Regions from separate parts of the Homo sapiens genome. Here regions 1, 2, 3, 4, 5 and 7 are each linked to region 6. Evidence: promoter capture Hi-C in 16 types of primary human blood cells and fetal thymus (Javierre and others, 2016). All regions are on one chromosome and are shown on one strand. The core of a region is centred on a gene start or on the middle of the fragment in contact, and the rest is flanking DNA. Distances in the headings are between cores, read along the strand shown. Region 1 holds the start of MRPL9 (mitochondrial ribosomal protein L9). Region 2 overlaps POGZ (pogo transposable element derived with ZNF domain). Region 3 has its middle 7.7 kb from the start of SELENBP1. Region 4 overlaps TDRKH (tudor and KH domain containing). Region 5 overlaps POGZ (pogo transposable element derived with ZNF domain). Region 6 holds the start of SNX27 (sorting nexin 27). Region 7 overlaps POGZ (pogo transposable element derived with ZNF domain).

Evidence for each region. Contacts are between HindIII fragments. The CHiCAGO score rates a contact against its expected background, and 5 or more counts as called.
Region 1: the fragment with the promoter of MRPL9 here is called in contact with the fragment with the promoter of SNX27 in region 6 in 4 of 17 cell types (naive CD4 T cells, total CD8 T cells, total CD4 T cells and 1 more); the score reaches 8.0 in naive CD4 T cells.
Region 2: a fragment that was not itself captured here is called in contact with the fragment with the promoter of SNX27 in region 6 in 2 of 17 cell types (erythroblasts and M2 macrophages); the score reaches 5.2 in erythroblasts.
Region 3: a contact is called between a fragment that was not itself captured here and the fragment with the promoter of SNX27 in region 6, in 1 of 17 cell types (M2 macrophages). The highest score is 5.1, in M2 macrophages.
Region 4: a contact is called between a fragment that was not itself captured here and the fragment with the promoter of SNX27 in region 6, in 13 of 17 cell types (naive CD4 T cells, fetal thymus, non-activated CD4 T cells and 10 more). The highest score is 8.4, in naive CD4 T cells.
Region 5: a fragment that was not itself captured here is called in contact with the fragment with the promoter of SNX27 in region 6 in 15 of 17 cell types (M2 macrophages, megakaryocytes, M1 macrophages and 12 more); the score reaches 10.9 in M2 macrophages.
Region 7: a fragment that was not itself captured here is called in contact with the fragment with the promoter of SNX27 in region 6 in 2 of 17 cell types (M2 macrophages and activated CD4 T cells); the score reaches 5.7 in M2 macrophages.

What each region holds. Positions count from the first base shown.
Region 1 is chr1:151,762,100-151,764,799 of GRCh38, reverse strand. MRPL9 (mitochondrial ribosomal protein L9) reads left to right here and starts at 1,304. Exons shown (of 7, transcript NM_031420.4): 1 at 1,304-1,473; 2 at 1,654-1,810; 3 at 2,300-2,424; 4 at 2,645-2,695. The coding sequence starts at 1,321. It also overlaps a transcript of OAZ3 not described here. RefSeq lists an enhancer at 1,154-1,533. The HindIII fragment of the contact is 8,401 bases long and covers 1-2,700 here.
Region 2 is chr1:151,426,933-151,429,635 of GRCh38, reverse strand. It overlaps POGZ (pogo transposable element derived with ZNF domain), which reads left to right. Exons shown (of 19, transcript NM_015100.4): 5 at 1-33; 6 at 1,223-1,513; 7 at 1,595-1,813. Among named protein-coding and RNA genes, the nearest start is that of PSMB4, 29 kb to the right of the region's middle. The HindIII fragment of the contact is 3,154 bases long and covers 1-2,703 here.
Region 3 is chr1:151,379,086-151,381,797 of GRCh38, reverse strand. No RefSeq gene overlaps it. Among named protein-coding and RNA genes, the nearest start is that of SELENBP1, 7.7 kb to the right of the region's middle. The HindIII fragment of the contact is 1,170 bases long and covers 712-1,881 here.
Region 4 is chr1:151,784,289-151,786,988 of GRCh38, reverse strand. The region is part of intron 1 of TDRKH (tudor and KH domain containing); the gene reads left to right. Among named protein-coding and RNA genes, the nearest start is that of TDRKH, 4.9 kb to the left of the region's middle. The HindIII fragment of the contact is 2,858 bases long and covers 10-2,700 here.
Region 5 is chr1:151,453,605-151,456,304 of GRCh38, reverse strand. All of the region lies in intron 1 of POGZ (pogo transposable element derived with ZNF domain), which reads left to right. Among named protein-coding and RNA genes, the nearest start is that of POGZ, 4.5 kb to the left of the region's middle. The HindIII fragment of the contact is 951 bases long and covers 957-1,907 here.
Region 6 is chr1:151,610,722-151,613,421 of GRCh38, reverse strand. SNX27 (sorting nexin 27) reads right to left here and starts at 1,372. Exons shown (of 12, transcript NM_001330723.2): 1 at 910-1,372. The coding sequence starts at 1,220. LOC124904420 (a long non-coding RNA gene) reads left to right here and starts at 54. Exons shown (of 2, transcript XR_007066622.1): 1 at 54-231; 2 at 1,023-2,700. RefSeq lists a silencer at 1,017-1,456 and an enhancer at 1,497-1,596. The HindIII fragment of the contact is 5,045 bases long and covers 1-2,700 here.
Region 7 is chr1:151,409,816-151,412,515 of GRCh38, reverse strand. It overlaps POGZ (pogo transposable element derived with ZNF domain), which reads left to right. Exons shown (of 19, transcript NM_015100.4): 11 at 120-220; 12 at 745-891. Among named protein-coding and RNA genes, the nearest start is that of PSMB4, 12 kb to the right of the region's middle. The HindIII fragment of the contact is 2,672 bases long and covers 1-2,586 here.

The sequences.
Region 1 (2,700 bases), core at 55-2,554, 150 kb before region 6:
GCATATAATACACCTACCAAACACCATAGCTTAGCCTAGCCTATCTTAAACATGCTCAGACAACTTATCCGACAGTTGGGTAAAATCATCTAACACAAAGCCTATTTTATAATAAAGTGTTGAATATTTCATGTAACTTATTGATGTCCTACTGAGTGCACATCACTTTCACACCATCACAAACTCAAAAATTGTAAATCCAAGTCAGGGACTATCTGTAATTTAAAGGTAGAACCCACAGGATTTCCTGATGGAGTATGAGAGAAAAGAGTTAGAATGGAAAGAATGGAGTTTCTGTCAACTGAGAGGAAAAAGGCTGCAGATGGGGCAGTTTTGGGGGCGAGGGGGGAATAAATAAATTAGTTTGGGACAGTTAACTTTGAGGTGTCCTTTGGATACGTAAGAGGAAAATGACGAATAAACAGTTGAATATTTGAGACGAGTTTGGGAGATGTCTAGGATGGAACTAGAAATTTGGGAGTCATTGGCTTATAAATGGTATTGTAAGCCACGAGACTGGATGAGATCAACAGTGAGTGTATACTGAGAAGAGTAAAGGTTCAAAAACGGAGTCCCGAGGGCATTCTAAGAAGCGGGGAGAAAAGGAGAAATCAGCAAACGAGACTGAAGAAGACCGGTGTCCAGGAGGCCAAGTAGTGTATTTAGGAGGAAGGAGGACTGGTCAGTATGTTTAAGGGCCAGTCTTTCCATAATCTCTGCCAAATGGACCTTCTTTCATCCAGTTTTTATGGTCTTCTGTCCAGTACTGAGACCCTCCCCAGAGGGAACTGTCGCGGCCTTACCATAGTTGCTTTTTTTTCTACGGTTTACATAGCTTGTGATTTAGAATTCTCCTTTATTAGCTTAAATACTGCAGTATAATGATTAAGGGTCAGGCTCCTCCTGGAGCTGGCAGAGTTTTCCAAGGGATCCCATCCTTTACCACTTTTAGGTAGATTTGAAGTAAGGAAAAGTGAGAGCATCATTCATTCTCCGGTCAGTATCCAGTCATCACAGAACGTTAGAATTAAAAGTTAGCCCAGCAACTGGAGCTACAGCAAAGCCCACACTTTCAAGAGGAAGAGCGTCTTTTCCGGCGTCAGTCCACCTAACACTCATTCCATTATCAGTCAGTAATTCTAGGCGTCCGTCACCTCTGCCAAAAAGCAAAAATAGGCAAGCCGCGGTGCCATCTGTTCCCCGGCCCGCTCCCCATACTTTCGCTCAGCCGTACCGGCGCGCCGCAGGCAGCACTGGCGGGGGCCTTTCCTGCCGCCGACGCCGGGGTCCTCCCTCAGGTCTCATTCTGTGCCTGTGAACATGGCGGCGCCCGTTGTCACGGCCCCGGGCAGAGCTCTGCTGCGGGCGGGCGCTGGACGGCTGCTTCGGGGAGGCGTCCAGGAGCTACTGCGGCCGCGACATGAAGGGAACGCCCCTGACCTGGCCTGCAACTTCAGCCTTTCTCAAAATCGGGTGAGGGCTGAGTCTGGGGTAGGGGGTAGATACGCTCGAGTATTGTTTCTGGAGGCGCACTGGGACCTGGAGGGGGCCGATGTGGGGGTGGCGGGCTTTCCTTGAGGGGCTGGCGGCCGTGGTGGAGGGAGAGGGTGTTCCTTGTGGAGACTAGCTTACCGTCGCTTTCCTGGCCGCCAGGGCACGGTCATCGTGGAGCGCTGGTGGAAGGTACCGCTGGCCGGGGAGGGCCGGAAGCCGCGCCTGCACCGGCGACATCGCGTCTATAAGCTGGTGGAGGACACGAAGCATCGGCCCAAAGAAAACCTGGAGCTCATCCTGACGCAGTCGGTGGAGAGTAAGGCCCGGGCCGAGGCGCTTCCTCTCAGGCTGGTCCGGTTTGGCATCAGCTTTTTCTAGCCCGTCCCCCTCAACTATTTGCCTTGCTTTTTCTTTGTGGAAACAATCCAACTCTATATGTGAGAAGAGGAAGCCATAAAAACTATTGTGATTGTGACACTGGCCTCCAGCATTGAAAATTAAAACATAAAGGCAGCAACATCATTAACAGTGTGTGGGGAGAGGAGCCTGACAATTTGTGCCACAGATACTGAAATCCTCCATGGGACGACAACTCCCTCTATACAGGGGATATTAAATTTATACATCAAGTTCTAAAGAAACTAATTAGCAGTCTCTTAAATCTTGTTCCTAGTGAATATGAATTAGCATTTCTTTTAGGAAAAATAAGCACTGTGAGAAACTAAGAGGTGCTTCTCTTTTTGACATCTTTTCTTTAGGGACTCCTAGATGGTTCTAATTCCCCTGTCTCTGTTCTAATTGACAGATGTTGGAGTCCGGGGTGACCTGGTCTCAGTGAAGAAATCTTTAGGCCGGAATCGACTCCTTCCTCAGGGACTGGCTGTATATGCATCCCCTGAAAACAAGAAGCTGTTTGAAGAGGAGAAATTGGTGAGCTCAAAGGAAGGACAGAGAGACTTGGGGAGATAAAACTTCTTTTCTCTTGCAGCTTCCTTCCCTTTGACATTTAACTTAACTTGAAAATGAAATAGGAACTAGAAGAACAGGAATGCAGAAGCCCAGCCAATGTCCAACATAGGAATAGTTTGATGCTATTTAACATGGGCTCATTTTTCTTTTACTGCTTTTCATCTTTAACTTTCTTTTCTAGCTGAGACAAGAAGGAAAATTAGAGAAGATCCAGACCAAGGCAGGTGAGGCGGTGAG
Region 2 (2,703 bases), core at 47-2,546, 180 kb after region 6:
GCCAAACGGTTAGACCAATTACACTAGTTCCAGGTAAGGAAAAATGTCTATCCATTTGGAATAAACTGGCATCCAGAAGATTTGTTTTTATTGTTCTAAATATCCTAAGTCATTTAGTAAGTACATTTAAAGAAAATCTAAAAATATAAAAATATTAATGATTTAAGCCCAATTTTAAAAAATCTGCTTCTAACCTTTGGCCAGGGTGGTGGTTTTATTTATTTCTGTTTAGCTTTTCACCACCCTTCATCAAGTAGTAAAACAGAGTTTACAGTCATTTTTCTGTAACTGGTATTTAGTCAGCTATTAAGACTATGTTATTAATGCAAACTCATAAATTCTACACTCCTTACACATCTCCTCATTTGCACGGTGGGATTATAAACTTTGTTTTAATTTTATAGCATAGATTTTAGATATAAACAAATGACATTCCTTTTATGGATAAATACTGTCAATGACTAGATAGTTTTTTTTTTTAAGATTCTGCTAGATAGTTTTTTTTTTTTTTAAGATTCTGAGAAGGATAATTTTTTTAAAATCTTAGAATTTTCCATTGCTCTATTTAGCATGTATAAGTTTACTACAATTCAGACCAAAAAAGAGTATCTTAATTTAGCTATTTGTAAGGGTACCTCTGTAGCTTGTCTTCCTAAGGTTTTGTTTTTTGTTCTCGTAGCCCATAGGGGTTTAAGTCTGACCAGCTTACCCTGGCATTTCTTTATTTTTCTCAGTGGAATTGTCTACAGTTGAGCCAGGAGACATTCCTCTTTGGGACATCCTAGTAGAATGGCATAGTCTGTCTTCTGAGTTGATAGAAGAGGATGGAAGACTCCTTTAGTACTCTGAGAAAGACTGATTTCTTTTTTCAGGACCAGGTTTGCCATTTGGCCTATATACACCCATATTGCTTCCCACTCTTTTCTTCCAGTACCGAGGTCAAGCCACTGATTGTATTCTTAGAATTAAAAAGGCAGTGTGATAAGGTGTTTTAGGAGGAGTTGATGGGAGTCTTATTTAACTTAATGTTTTTAGGCTGCCCAGGTTATTTTGTCAACATGGACACCTTGTGCTTTCTTAGTCTTTAGAATCTATACTCCTCTTGGAAACCTCTGATGATCATCCATCAGTTTGGGGAAATAATCTTTCCAGTAAAGGCAGGGAGAATGTGTTATAGGTGAGCTCACTGACCAAGATCTGGTACTTTGTCTCTCTTTTAAAGCCCCAGGTACCCAGTTTGTTAAGCCGACAGTTGGAGTTCCACAAGTGTTCTCCCAGATGACCCCTGTGAGGCCAGGCTCCACAATGCCTGTGAGGCCCACCACCAACACCTTCACCACCGTCATCCCGGCCACTCTTACCATTCGAAGCACCGTCCCACAGTCCCAGTCCCAGCAGACCAAGTCCACTCCCAGCACTTCTACCACTCCCACTGCCACACAGCCAACCTCACTGGGGCAACTAGCTGTTCAGTCTCCAGGCCAGTCAAACCAGACCACGAATCCCAAGCTAGGTAAGGCTTCGGAAGAGGAGATGGCAGAGCCAGGTTGGGATGGTGGGTGGAGAACAGATGATTATCACTTGGTCACCGTAGCTCCCTCCTTCCCCTCTCCACCTGCAGTGAGCATTGCCAGCTTTGTCACTGTGAAGCGACCTGGTGTTACAGGCGAAAATAGCAATGAAGTGGCCAAATTGGTGAATACCCTTAACACCATCCCTTCCCTGGGCCAGAGTCCTGGGCCAGTGGTGGTGTCCAACAACAGCTCTGCTCATGGCTCTCAAAGAACCAGCGGACCTGAGTCTTCAATGAAAGGTACAATAACCTGAAAGACTCTGAGCAGCCAGTCATTCAAAAACATTAATAAAGTGTTTGTTGTATCAGAGCTTTATACTCAGAAATAGAAAAATAAAATAAAATACAGCTGCTGTAGTTTGTTCTTACAGAAACTTTAGTAAGGAGAAAGCCACTTACAAAAAGTGTAACTGAATCAGCTCCAAGAAATTATGTGTGTAATTGTGCTTTGGAGATTAGTGAAATTGATTGATTAAAGATGGGTGAGATAATGAAAGATAACTTCATGGAAGAGATGGATTTCTGAGCAAGGTTTTAAAGTTAGGATTTGGTAGAGAGATCTTCAGGTTGAGAATGATGAGCATGAGGGTTTTCAGTGGTCTAGAGCAGGGGTCGGCAAATGTTTTCTGTAAAGGGCCTAGTAGTAAAGTTGTAGGCTTTGTGCACAATATATAGCCTCTGTTGCAGCTATTAACTGTGCTGTTGTGGTGGGGAAGCAGCCACAGATACATAAACGAATGAGCATGGCTGTGCTCCACTAAAAACTATTTATGGACTCTGAAATTTAAGTTTCATAAAATTTTCATGTGTCGAAAAGTTTTATTCTTTTATTTCAACCATTTAAAAATAAAAACCGCAAGGTATAGTGGCTCACACCTCATCCCAGCATTATGGGAGGCCAAGACGGGAGGATCACTTGAGCCTAGGAGTTTGAGACCAGCCTGGGCAACATGGTGAGATCCCATCTCTACAAAAAAAAAAAAAAAAAAGATTAGCCAGGCGTGGTGGTGTATGTCTGCAGTCCTCGCTACTCAGAAGTCTGAGGTGAGAGGATGGCTTGGGCTTGAACCCAGAAGGTTGAGCCTGCAGTGAGCCATGAGCATGCCACTGCAACAGAACGACACCCTGTC
Region 3 (2,712 bases), core at 47-2,546, 230 kb after region 6:
CCTCTTGCCTGCCTCATCCCATGGATCACCCCAACTCACCAAGCATCACTGGATCTGCTCGATCATAAGGCCCCAGTGGCAGAAGTGGTTGCAGCCAGAGAGCCCTTTCTTGTCCTAGATCCCAATCAAAGGACACTGCCTCTACCCCTCAAGTTCTATGTGCTGCCATGGCACCACCAGCTGCGCTGGACCCTGGGAGGTTCTGCAGCATGGTGACCCACCCGCACACCAGCCTTCCCTGCAGCAACCAGAACCCACTCCCTACTTCCTTGTGTTGGAGTCTCCGGTGGGCACACCTGGCTGCGTCCAAGACCAAGTCACATGCTTGCTCCTAGCAGCAAGGAGGCCTAAGGCCTGGGACGGTGAGTATCTGGCCTTTTGCCTCCCACCCAATATAGAAAGGGCTGAATGTGCTGGCCAGCCATCCAAGCAACAAAACACAAAAGCATTCTGTCTGAAGGGGCTGCGAACTTATGTGCATAGAGGTCCCAGGCCAGAGCCTGAAGCTACTGCCTGGCTTCAGATCCTGGGCTCTGCTACTCACTAGCTGTGTAACTTTGTATGAGTTGCTTCCTCTTTCTATGCTGTAACTTCTTTATCTGTAAATTGGACATAATGAAAATACCCACTTCATAGGGATGTTGTAAACCCTGTATAAGTAAAGGCAGAACATGCAAATAGCTCAGAGAAGTACTTGGCACATGGAAAGCTTTTATATGAGGTGGATGTGGTTCATTTCTCTTTCTTTATCCCTAAGTACTTCGAACAGTACCATGTATTTAATAAATGATAGCTGTTGTTATTTTATTATTACAGTTTGGGTATCCCTTATCCAAACTGCTTGGGACCAGAAGTGTTCCAGATTTCAGATTTTTTTCAGATTTTGGAATACATATATATATATTAAAATATCTTGGGGATGGGACCCAAGTCTAAACGCAAATTTATTTGTGTTTCATAAACACCTTATACACATAGCCTGAAGGTAACTTTATACAATATTTTAAATAATTTGTACATGAAACAAAGTCTTGACTGTGACCCAACACGTGAGGTCAGGCACGCAATTTGCTACCTGTGGTGTCACACTGGTGCTCAAAACATTTCAGATTTTGGAGCATTTTGGATTTCAGATTTTCAGATTAAGGATGCTCAACCTGTACCTATATCTTTTTTCTTTTTTTTTTTTTTTTTTAGACAGAGTCTCCCTCTGTCGCCCCAGGCTGCAATGCAGTGGTGCAATTTTGGCTCGCTGCAACCTCCACCTCCCAGGTTCAAGTGATTCTCCTGCCTCAGCCTCCCAAGTAGCTGGGATTGCAGGTGTGTGCCACCACGCCAGGCTAATTCTTATACTTTTAGTAGAGACAGGGTTTTGCCATGTTGGCCAGGCTGGTCTCGAACTCTTGACCTCAGGGGATCCACCTGCCTCAGCCTCCCAAAGTGCTGGGATTACAGGCGTGAGCCACCGCCTCAACCTGTACCTGTTTCTTGCCTACTTGTGCAGGTATTTCCATGGGATTGCATCCTTGAAGTGAAATTCCTAGGTAAAACAGTATGCACAGTTTAACTTTTGTGAGGTATTGACAAATTGTTTTTGTTAGTAAGGCACCAATTGACACTCTCATTAGTCCTAAATGAGTGGTCCCTTTGCCGCATAGTCTCACCAATACAAGATTTTAACCTTTAAATTTTTTGCCCATCTTATAGGCAAAAATGTTACTGTATTCTTTCACTGTTTCAATTGTTTACACATGTATTTCAAACTTAATATAAAATTTTAAAAATATGATTGATACATAATGTGAAAAATAAAAATTGCTCCCTGTAATCCAATTCTTGAGGTAACCACTGTTAGCTACATTTGGCATGATAAGGGAAGCTTTATCTCTACAAATCCTTTTCTTTAGGTTTTTTTTTTTTTTTTTAAGCGGAGTCTTGCTCTGTCGCCCAGGGTGGAGTGCAGTGGCACGATCTCAGCTCACTGCAACCTCCACCTCCCGGGTTCATGCCATTCTCCTGCCTCAGATTCCCAAGTAGCTGGGACTACAGGCGCCTGCCACCATGCCCGGCTAATTTTTTTTTTTTTTTTTTTTTTTGTATTTTTAGTAGAGATGGGGTTTCGCTGTGTTAGCCAGGATGGTCTCGATCTCCTGACCTCGTGATCCGCCCGCCTCGGCCTCCCCAAGTCCTGGAATTACAGGAGTGAGCCACCACGCCCGGCCTACTTTTTTTTTTTTTTGAGACAGCGTCTCACTCTGCCACCCAGACCAGAGTGCAGTGGTGCAATCACAGCTCACTGCAGCCTCGACCTCCAGGGCTTAAACAATCTTCCCACCTCAGCACACCTTCCCCACCCCCGAAGTAGCTAGGACTACAGGAGCCTGCCAGGCCTAAATTGTTTTAATTTTTTGTAGAGACGGTGTCTCATTATGTTGCCCAGGCTGGTCACAAACCCCTGGGCTCAAGCAATCTGCCTGCCTCAGCCTCCCAAAATACTGACATCAATCATAAGCCAAATCCTTTTCTATGAACGTATAGATGGATGAATAAATAAATAAATATAAATTTAACTAGTTAAAACTATATAGCTTAATTTTTATGTAGTTTTAATTAAAATGAGGCTGGGCACAGTGGCTCACACCTGTAATCCCAGTACTTTGAGAGGCTGAGGCAGGCAGATCAAGACCAGCCTGGCCAACATGGCGAAACCCC
Region 4 (2,700 bases), core at 189-2,688, 170 kb before region 6:
AGAGAAGCTTATCCAATGACTTGGGAAAAGAACCTCATAAATGAAAACAAACAGCCTACATTAACCTCAACCCTTTCTGTCCTACATTCTAAAAAGGTCGGGAGAGAACAGTATTCCCTCAGATTGATAGTCTCTAAAAATGATATACTGAATTCACTGAGTAACTAATGACCCAAAATAGACGACACCCTTGAAAAGAGGTACCCATCCCCCACCTCGGGTAGTAAAAGGCCGTTTTATTATTTGCTCAGGCTTTTGAGTCCGGGCAAGAAGGTGGATTAAATTTGTTTAAAACCAGGATATAGAAAAAATAGATTTGGCAAACTTCTGGTAGTTCTCTGAAGAACTTTATTCAGTTCTGTTGATCAGTAAAGCTGTGAGGCCAGATGCAAATTCTGGTCATCTGTATGACAGTGTAGTAGTCTACCCTTCTCCGTGGTTTTGCTTTCACTTACCCATAGTCAATCCTGGTCCAAAAAGATTAAATGGGAAGTTCCATACGTAAACAATTCTTAAGTTTTAAATTGTGCACCATTCTGACTAGCATGGTGAAATCTCCATCCTGGCCCAGACGAGAATCCTGCCTTTGTCCAGCATATCCATGCTGTATATGCTACCCGCCTCTTAGTCACTTAGTAGCCATCTTGGTTATCAGATTGAAAAAACCTATAGTTTTCAGTACTCCAAGGCATCCACTGGGGTTCTTGGAACATATTCCTCGAGGATAAGAGAGGATGACTGTTGTAAGAAATCTACCTCCAGCCTCCCTTACCTGACTATATCTGCTCCTCAGTGAGATTTCGGTGCTAGATGTTCTCCTTTCTCTCTTTACTCTTCCAGATTGACTGTGCTTTCCCTGAAAGCCTAAGTTTTATTCCACAGTAGGTTTTGTATTAATGAGTATGTTTTTAGCCTTACCAGGATATAGCCAGTTTTTCCCCCCAGGGTGAAATACATTTTTGTTTATTATAATTATTTGGGTTGAATTTTTGTACCTGGAGGTAAATTATGGCATAAGTTACATTTACTCATTTTTAAGCAAATCTTATTTAAAGCCAGCTTGCTTTGTTCTACTAGATTGTAATATCTGGAAATACAGATATTTAGTTTTCAGTTTTTTATCACCTATCTTTAGTTTTTTAGTCTTCAGTGTTTTTTTAACCACCTACAGTACTTTCTACCAGTATTAATTTTGAATTGAATATGTTGATCAAAATAAAGAATAAAAATACAGGTGCTGTTACCCTAAGAGCTTAGGTAAAAGGAAGAGTGGGGAAGGATTTCTAAAATCACTTTACAAGGTTTTTTACAAGCAAGAATAACCCAGACTCTGGGTTAGAGATTAGATAACCTCTTCAAGCATGGGTACTCTTCTATGGGATTAATATTTCCTGCCTTACAGGGTTATATGACTGTAAAATAAAATTATGTAATTTGCCTGGCATAGTAGCTACTCAACACATTATCTCTTCATTTTTGTGTCTTTAGTGCCACAGTAGCATCTAGCACATAGTACTTACTCCAGCTCTTGTGTTGAGAATAAACTGAATGGACAATGGCAAAGGCAGGAACGTAATTAAGCAATGCAGTAATCTAGGGAAAAGATAATGGTGTTTTAGAGCAGGGTCATAGAACTGCAAAGAGAAAAAGTGGTCAGATTCTGGATGATTTGAAGGTAGAGCAAATAAGATTTGTTGACAGGCTAGGTGTGCAGTGTGAGAGAGAGGATGACTAAGGGAGTAAGAGAATGCAGTCGAGGCAGAGCACAGTGGTTCACACCTGTAATCTCAGCACTTTGGAAGGCTGAGGTTGGTGGATCACTTGAGCCCAGGAGTTTGAGACCAGCCTGGGCAACATGGTGAAACCCTTTCTCTACAAAAAATACAAAAATTAGCCGGGCATGGTGGCATGCACCTGTAGTCTCAGCTACTGGGAGGCTGAGAGATGGGAGGATTGCTTGAGTCCAGAGGTTGTGGCTGCAGTGAGCCATGGTTGCGCCACTGCACTCCAGCCTGGCAACAGAGAAAGACCTTGTCTCAAAAAAAAAAAAAAAAACGAATTGCCATTTGCTGAGATGGCAAAGATTATGGGAAGGGGGTGAATCAGGAGCTCAGTGTTAAGTTTGAGATGTCTATTAGACATCAAATGGAGATCCATGTAGGCAGTTGAGAAAGGTCCTAAATGGATCTATTAATTTGGAAGTTATCAGCATCTAGATAGGAGTTAAAGCCAGTCCGTGAATGAGACTTGAGATCACCAAGAAAGTGAGGTAGAACAGAGAAGAGGGCGAAGGACAGATCCCTGAGGCACTCCAGTGTTTAGAGGTTAGAAAAATGTGAAGAAACCAGCAACTGGGAGACTGATGGAATAGCCAGAAAGGAAAGAGGAAAACCAGGAGGGTGTGCTATGGAGAATGTGTTTCAGAGAAGAGGGAATCATCAGCTGTGCCAAATACTGTGGGGACATCTGGTAAGATGAAAACTGAGAATCGATCTTTGGATTGAGCAGTATGAAATCATTGGTGACTCTGATGTGAGCAGTTAGAGTGGATTTAAGAAGAGAACTTGAGGACAGATATATTGACACTCGAGTTTTCCTTTAAAAGGAAGAAAAGAAATGGGAAGTAGTTGAAGTGAAATCCAGGAAGGGTTTTCTTTAAGAACAGAGAATGTTTGTCTGCTGATGGGACTATCCAGTAGA
Region 5 (2,700 bases), core at 183-2,682, 160 kb after region 6:
TAAAAGACTTTCCTTATGATATCAGTGGTTAAGGACTGCAATATTTTAAAATGTTGTTTAATGAAATATGTTATTTGGAAGATGGGCATAACTCAGTAAATCTAGGCTTTGCAAATGACCAATGCATGATGTTGCAAAATCAAGCAAAGGCAAAAGATCCTTTGAAAATTCCAGACATAGCAATGGATTTTAACAGTAAAAAAGTGGATTGATGTGGTTTCAGATTCCAAAATGTTAACTGTCCTTTAAGAAACTACTATTTGGCCTAGCGTGGTGGCTCACTCCTGTAATCCCAGCACTTTGGGAGGCCAAGGTGGAAGGATTGTGTGAGCCCAGGAGTTGGAGTTGAGCCTGGTCAGCATAGTGAGACCCTGTCTCTATTTATTAAAAAAAAAAAAAAAAAAAAAAAAGAAAGAAACTACCGTTTGTTGAGTTTTAGTATTTACCAAACACAGTTATCTGAAAAGGTTATTAAAATACTTCTCCCTTTTCCGACTAGATTTTCATTATATACTTAACCAAAGCTACATATAGCAACAGACTGAATGCAGAAGTAACTGTGAGAATCCAACCATCTTTTATCAAGTTAGACATAAAAGAGATTTGCAAAATGCAAAACAACGTTACTTTTCTCACTTTTTGGAGGGAAAGTATTTTTTGTTGAAATGTTATTTATGTTAACTTATAATGGGCTTGTCTTAAAATACATTGATAAATACTACATTTTAAAAATTTGTGGTAAATGTGGAAAGATAAAATTCACATAAACAAAAGATCTTTGGCGTCTTCAATAATTTTAAGAGTCAAAAAAATGAGAATCATTCAGTCAGTCCTATGTTTCTGCTCTTTACATCATTCAAATCTAACTCCCTTGGGGAACTTGGGAGAATTTATAAATAGTTGAAGTTGATGGAAGAGGCAGTGACCTGGGGAAGAATTCTAAAGCAAAAAAAGCTTGCTTTGAATCCTAACTGGGATATTTACTAACTGTAACCTTGAGGAAGTTACTTCGTCTCTCTAAACCACTGTTTTGACCTTATCTGTAAAATAAAAACTTTAGAGCTGGTTGATTACAAATCCTAGAGCTGGTTAATGCCTTTGCCATAATATCAATATGGTAACATTTTGATAGATTCTTTGGTATTCTTGTTTGTGATATTAAGCCATATTCACAAAAACTTGTCTTTTTTTTTTTTTTGAGATGGAGTCTCGCTCTATTGCCCAGGCTGGAGCGTAATGGCGCAATCTCGGCTCACTGCACCCTCCGCCTCCTGGGTTCAAGCGATTCTCCTCCTTCAGCTTCCTCAGTAGCTGGGATTACAGGCACGCGCCACCACACCTGGGTAATTTTTGTATTTTTCTAGAGATGGGGTTTCACCATATTGATCAGGCTGGTCTCAAACTCCTGACCTCTTGATCGACCCGCCTTGGCCTCCCAAAGTGCTGGGATTACAGGCGTGAGCCACCACGCCCAACTGAAAAACGTATTTTTATATGTAACCAAGGGGAGGAGAGCAGAAAAGAGACACTAACCTATTGCTAGGTGTTAGCAGAGTTAAAAGAAATTGAAAGCATAGAAATGGAATTTAGGCAACACACAGCTGTCATTGAAGAAAAGTTTTCCATCATAGTATAGATATTTTTCTTGGGAAAGGGACTCCTGAATATTGAACCCCTTTAAAGAAGAGAACTTGTTGCTTACTTGTTTTAGTAAAGAGCACAGAACTAAATATTTGGGTGTTTCTTGATACAGGATTGGCTACCAGACAAGAGGAAAGTATTTTGAGTTTGGAAATTTTAGGTTATTAAGACTACTTAAAACCCTTATGATTCTTACATATGAGGTACTATAACAGATGTTGTGAGGGACAAAATGGGCTGTGCAAAAGACTGGATAAATAAAAGCTTATTACATGTTTAACTATAGTTTTATACACAGATTAAGTATTCAGCCCTATAGGTTTTCTGGTATTAGTCCTTTTTAGAGCCAAAAATTGAGGTAACTTGAAAACATAATTACCAGTTATGTTGAGGATTATCATTGTTTATTTTTCACCCTGGAACAAGAAAGTGGTATTCTTAAAATGTTTGTTTTCTGTAAAATATTTTTCCTGTTCCAAATGTTCTTTTTATGTTGATTTTTGGGCAGGTATGTACTGGCAGTAAGTTGAAAACGTTAGATACCAAATTCTTCATTTCTGAATTCTTCATTCTTCATTTCTGGACTTTACAGCTATGAAAGAACAAGACAAAGGAATTCAGAGCTTTCAAGAACCAAGTATGTCAGGATAGTTGTGGAAAACAGATCTTTTTCTCATTTTCTTTGAGATGAAGATAGGCAACATTTGCTGCCCATTAAATACCTTAAAAGTATACAGGTGTATCTGCAGGATTCTTTTTGCTGCTTTTAAATAGTATATTGTTTTAAAAGGTCTGTTTTTATCTTGCCTTTACAATTATATAGACTTTTATTGACTAGCTGATCATATAGGGCCTTAGTATAGACTACCATATTCGCCAGCATTTAAGAAATAGTCCCCTTCCCTCCAGGAGAGTATTTATCTGGTACTCCCATATTATGGATTGAAGGATGAGACAAGAGACTGAGTATTGCTAATAGTTCTGTGTGAGCCTGCAGTGTTAAGTAAAACCTATTGAGTGCACAAAAAAATCATGTTACAATTACTACAAAATAGAGAA
Region 6 (2,700 bases), core at 123-2,622:
TTGAAGGAGGAGGAGTTACAAGGGGTCTACCATAAACCTGACTAGGAGGAGGCATGAGTATAGAGCAGGAGTGAAGGCAGGAGGCCAGGGAAGGGATGCTCTCAGAGGGGTGTGCTGATGGAGACGCTAGATTCCAAATTAGGGTGTGATACGGGGCCAACCGAGAAGAGAAACTACGGTGTCAAATCCCACGCCCCCCACCCCAAAGGCATGCAAGGGTCAGAAAGCAAGGTAAACTCTTGGAGTAGAAATACAAAAAGGAGGGGAGGAAAGGGGCACACGGTGGGATGGAAAAATTTAGGGGCAGCGTAACCATGAGGAGAGGGTAACTAAGGAAAGAAAAAGGAGACGAGCGGGGAGGGATGGTGTTTCCGGAGGAAAAGTAGGAGCAGACCAGAGGTCCTGCCTACTTGGTCTGGAGGGCAGAAGGGGCAGTCCACGGGGGCGGAGGGGAGTGGTGGAGAACGAAACTGCGATGCTGAAGATGAGAACTTGGGGGGGACACGGTACTGGCTGGATCAGAAAACGAAACGCCGTCAGTAAGGAGCAGATGAGGTTCCTTCTGAGCAAGACGAGGGGGAGTGAGGAGCAGAATGCAGCACGCCAAACGGGAAGGCAAAGGGGCGGAGAAGAGCCCAGAGTAATCGGGGCACAGGGAGGAGCACTGGGGGCGCAAGGGCATCAGCTGGAGACGACGGGGTGGGAGACCGGCGTCGCAGAAGCCCCGGGGCGGGTGGTGGGAGGGCAGCCCACAAGGAGGGGCCCGGCTGCGGAGGCCTGAGGGGCGGGGGTCCGGAGGCCGGCTCGGAGCTCGGGGGAGGTGCGGCCTGGGGGTGACAAGGGTAGCGAGGAGTGCAGGGGCAGGAGGGGCGCGGGGAGGATGGGGCGGCGGGTAGCCCCGATACTCACACCTCCAGGATGCGGTCCCCCTTGCGCACCCCGGCCCGATCGGCCGCCCCCCCGGGCAGCACGGCGCTCACATGCTGCAGCGGCGCGTACAGCTCCCCGTTGATGCTCCGCAGTTGCCCGCCCTCGCTCACTTGGCCCCGCACGTTGAAGCCGTAGCCGGACTCGGACTTGACGATGCGCACGACCCGCGGGCCGCCGCCTCCCCCGCCGCCGTTCCCGGCGCAGTGGAGCCCAGACCCCCCGCCGCCGCCGCCACCTCCGTTCCTGTGAGGGGCTGAGGGATGAATCCCTTCCCCGTCCTCGTCCGCCATCTTGCGAGCAGGCGAGCCGTACCCCCGCCCCCTACGCCTCCAAGGCCTCCCGGCGCGTGCTCGCCCTGCCTGGCAGCCGGACGACCCCCGACGCGCGCGCCCGATCCGCCGGCCGCGGGACCGACTCGGCCACCGAGCTGCTGGCGCGGGGTGAAGAGGAGGCAGGGGGCGGGCGAAAAGCGGACAATCGGGCACCGTGGGGCCTCCTGGGAGATGTAGTTTATGGGTGGCGGGGGCGGGGAGCGGTCTGGGCCTGGGCCTGAGCCGAGGTTATAAGACGCAGTTCGGAAGCAAGGCCTGCCGGGAGTTGTAGTTTATCTTTCATGCTGGGTTAGGAGTTTGATCTGCTGGGTGGGGAGAGTATAACCCAGCACCCAGCGTGGTAAAATGATTCAGTTCTTGATGCGGACCAAGTTTTTCGCCCCCCCCCCTTTCATTTCATAACCTCTAAAAAACAATAATGTTAGAATAACTTAACGTTTGTGATTCAACACAGTCTTAAATTATATCAACTCATTTTTTGGCACAGTAACTTATATGTTGACCAGGGCCCAACAACCTGTGAGGCAACCGGATCACGATTAGCTTCCCTATTTTACGTTATTAGGAAACAACCTTAGAGTGCTCAAAGTCATCCAGCTACTAAGTATCAGGAACTAAGGCCCAGTTATTGTGCAACTTTCTTGTCCTGTATTGCAACTACAGTCATGTGCCACATAAGGACATTTTGGTCTACAATGGACTGCAAACACGAGGGAGGCCCCCTAAGATGATAATGGAGCTGAAAAATGTCTATCACCTAGTGGCACAGTAGCCACCATAAGGTCATAGCACAAGCATTACTCACATGTTTGGAGTGATGCTGGTGTTAACAAACCTGCACTGCCAGTCATGTGAAAGTATAGCACATATGATTATGTACAGTACATAATACTTGATAATGGTAAGAACTATGTTACTAGTTTATGAATTCACTGTAGTTTTTATCACTATTTTAGAGTGTACTCCTTCTACTTTTTTTTTTAAGTTAACTGTAAAGCAGCCTCAGGCAGGTCCTTCAGAAGGTATTCTAGGTATTCTAAGTATTGTGATTTTTTTCCACGTATTCCAAGTATTGTGTTTTTTTGTTTTGTTTTGTTTTTTTGTTTTTTTTTTTTTTAAGATGGAGTTTCGCTCTTATCGCCCAGGCTGGAATGCAATGGCACGATATCGGCTCACCGCAACCTCTGCCTCCCAGGTTCAAGTGATTCTCCTGCCTCAGCCTCCCAAATCCCTTGCGATTAAACGCATGCGCCACCATGCCTGGCTAATTTTTTGGTATTTTTAGTAGAGACAGGGTTTCACCATGTTGGCCAAGCTGGTCTCGAACTCCTGACCTCAGGTGATCCAACCACCTCAGCCTCCCAAAGTGCTGGGATTACAGGTGTGAGCCACTGTGCCTGGCCCCAGTTATTGTTACCATCAGATGACAGCTCTGTGC
Region 7 (2,700 bases), core at 1-2,500, 200 kb after region 6:
CTATGATTTACTGATTGTTGAAAATCAAAATAAAGGAGGCAGAGAAAATAAAGATTGTGAGTCAGCAGGACTTTTGTCTTATTTTCAAGTGGATTTATTGATTACTTTTCTTCTTACAGCCAAGTGCAAGATCTGTGAATGGGCGTTTGAAAGTGAGCCACTATTTCTCCAGCATATGAAGGATACTCATAAGCCTGGAGAGATGCCTTATGTTTGCCAGGTATTGCCTTTTTCTCCAGGGAGTTTTAGCAGTTTTGCCCTCAGGAAGAATACAAAGAATTTACTAATGAATATTGTTGACCACCTACTGCATACACTCAGTTTAGGAACTCTGAGTAGGTACAGAAGAAATAGTAAACACAGTTTATCTTCAGGGTTTCCATGCAGGAGAAAAACATAAAAGAACATGTCCACAAGTAGACTAGCCGGGAACATGTGCATATTCTAAGGGAGTGTCTGTCTCCTGAACGTGCCCTTTGGAAATTGACAGAAAAGGCTTTATTTTTCTTAGTTAGAGAACATGGATTATTCTTAGACTTTCTGTCCCTTCCTATTTTTAAAGTAATAGCTAAACCTATCACAAACATAGCCCAGCATTACAAAGTCAGGAAAATAATTTGATTTCTATGCATTTGAGAAAACTTTTTTTTTTTAATTTAAAAATTTTTGTTGCTACCTTTTTTTTTAAGGCCTCTCAGTTGTTCACTTCATTCTTAGCCTTATTTTCCCTCCTATGTGACTCAGGTGTGTCAATATCGCTCCTCACTCTACTCTGAGGTAGATGTCCATTTTCGGATGATCCATGAGGATACCCGGCATCTGCTCTGCCCTTATTGCCTGAAGGTCTTCAAAAATGGCAATGCATTCCAACAGCATTACATGAGGCACCAGGTACTAGGCACCAAGCAATTCCCATATTCTCTTGTTTTTTTTTTTTTTAAACATGGATGCTGGGGCCAGGGCTGAGCTAGGCAAATAATTTGGGCAGAGATTATAATATGCATATGTTTGCAGAAATTTATTGAATTCACTTAATGTGCCATGTACTAGTCTAGATGCTAGAGATTTAGTAGTAAACAAGGCAAACAATACAATAAAACATGAAGAGTACTGTGTTGGGGAAATTATAGGATATAGAAAATCACATAGCTATTCTGGGTGCCTAGTAAGGCTTCCAGAAAGAAGTGTTGTTCAATACCTGAGGGATGAATAAGAATGAGCCAGATGAAATAAGACGAAGAACAGTGTGCCCAAGGCACAAAGCAAAATTGTGGAGGTTCAAGAAATTGAGAGAGATTCAGTGTAGGGTGTAAGAGACAGAGGGGTTGGAAGTTAGGCAGGGACAGATCATGGAGGATCTTTTAAGCCATGAAAAGAATTCACTGGGAAGCCACTAAAGGGGTTTTAAGCCCTGGAGTGATGTGTTCAGCTTTAGTTAAGGCTTTATACTGCCTGCACTGCAGAGAATGGATTAAAGGAGATTGAGACTACAGTTAGGGAAACTAGCTAGAAGGCCTTTTTCAGTAGTTTAGGTGAGAGATGATAGTGGCTATTGGCTTTTGAAATAAAAAGAGGGTAGAGTTGAGAGATATTCAGAAGATTTGTGATATTTATGATGTAGAGATGGATTAGGTGAAGGTAGCAATGCAGTAGTTAAGAATAGTGCCTAAGATTCTGTCTTGGGCAGTTGGGTGAATGAGGGAACTATTTGCTGAAATAGAAACAATAGAGAAAGTATATTTGTGAGGGGGGAGATCATGAGCTTGGATATTGTAAGTTAGCAGTATCTGTGGATGTCAAGTGTAGCTGTTGGATAATAGATCTCAAGCCTGTGAGAGAACTCTGGGTTGTAGAAAAGATTTAGGAATCAGCGTTATATAAATCCTATAGATTTTAAACTTAAATACCATGGGCCCCCCAACCCTGTTGAGAATAAGAGAAGGCTTAGGATATTTGAAGTCCCTTATCTATAAAGCAACCACCATAGTACTAGGAGGAAAACCAGAAGAGTCTTAACCTTAAGGAAACTGGGGAGAAGAAAGTGTTTTAAAGAAAAGGGTGTGATCAAAATGTCATATGTTACAGGAAGGTGTCAAGCAACATAGAGACTTAGAAACAGGCCTTTAATTTAGCAACATTGATGAGAGCCATTTTGTTGGTTGGTAGGGTGGAAGTCACATTTCAGCAGAACAAATGAATGAGAGGTAAGGAAATGAAGACGATGTATTTAAAGAAGTTTATTTATAAAAAGGGAGGACCCAGGGTAGGTAAATCCAGAGGAAGAAGTGGCAAAGAAGAGTTTTTTATTGCTTTTATTTTCCTTATAAGATGAAAAGCTATGACTTCGTTTTAAAATACTACAAGAAGAGAGCCACTAGAGGAGAGTGAAAGGTATATAGTATATAAGAGAGGATTCAAAATGGAGAATAAGATGAGTGCATGTGTGCTTAATAGTCACATACATATGCACACAAACATATGTACCCTATTACACTCATAGTCTCCTTTGCACAGTAGTGACTGCTGATTGTCTACCACAACTGTATTTCCAAATAGGGGCATGGAAATTGTCTCTTAGCCTAAGCTTACAGAGCTTTGTTATCCTACTAAAGAAAATCATAGACATGGGTTCTATTTTTGAAGGACTTCAATACTAGGCAGACTGAATCCTCAAAGTGGTCTCACCAGGAGACATATCTG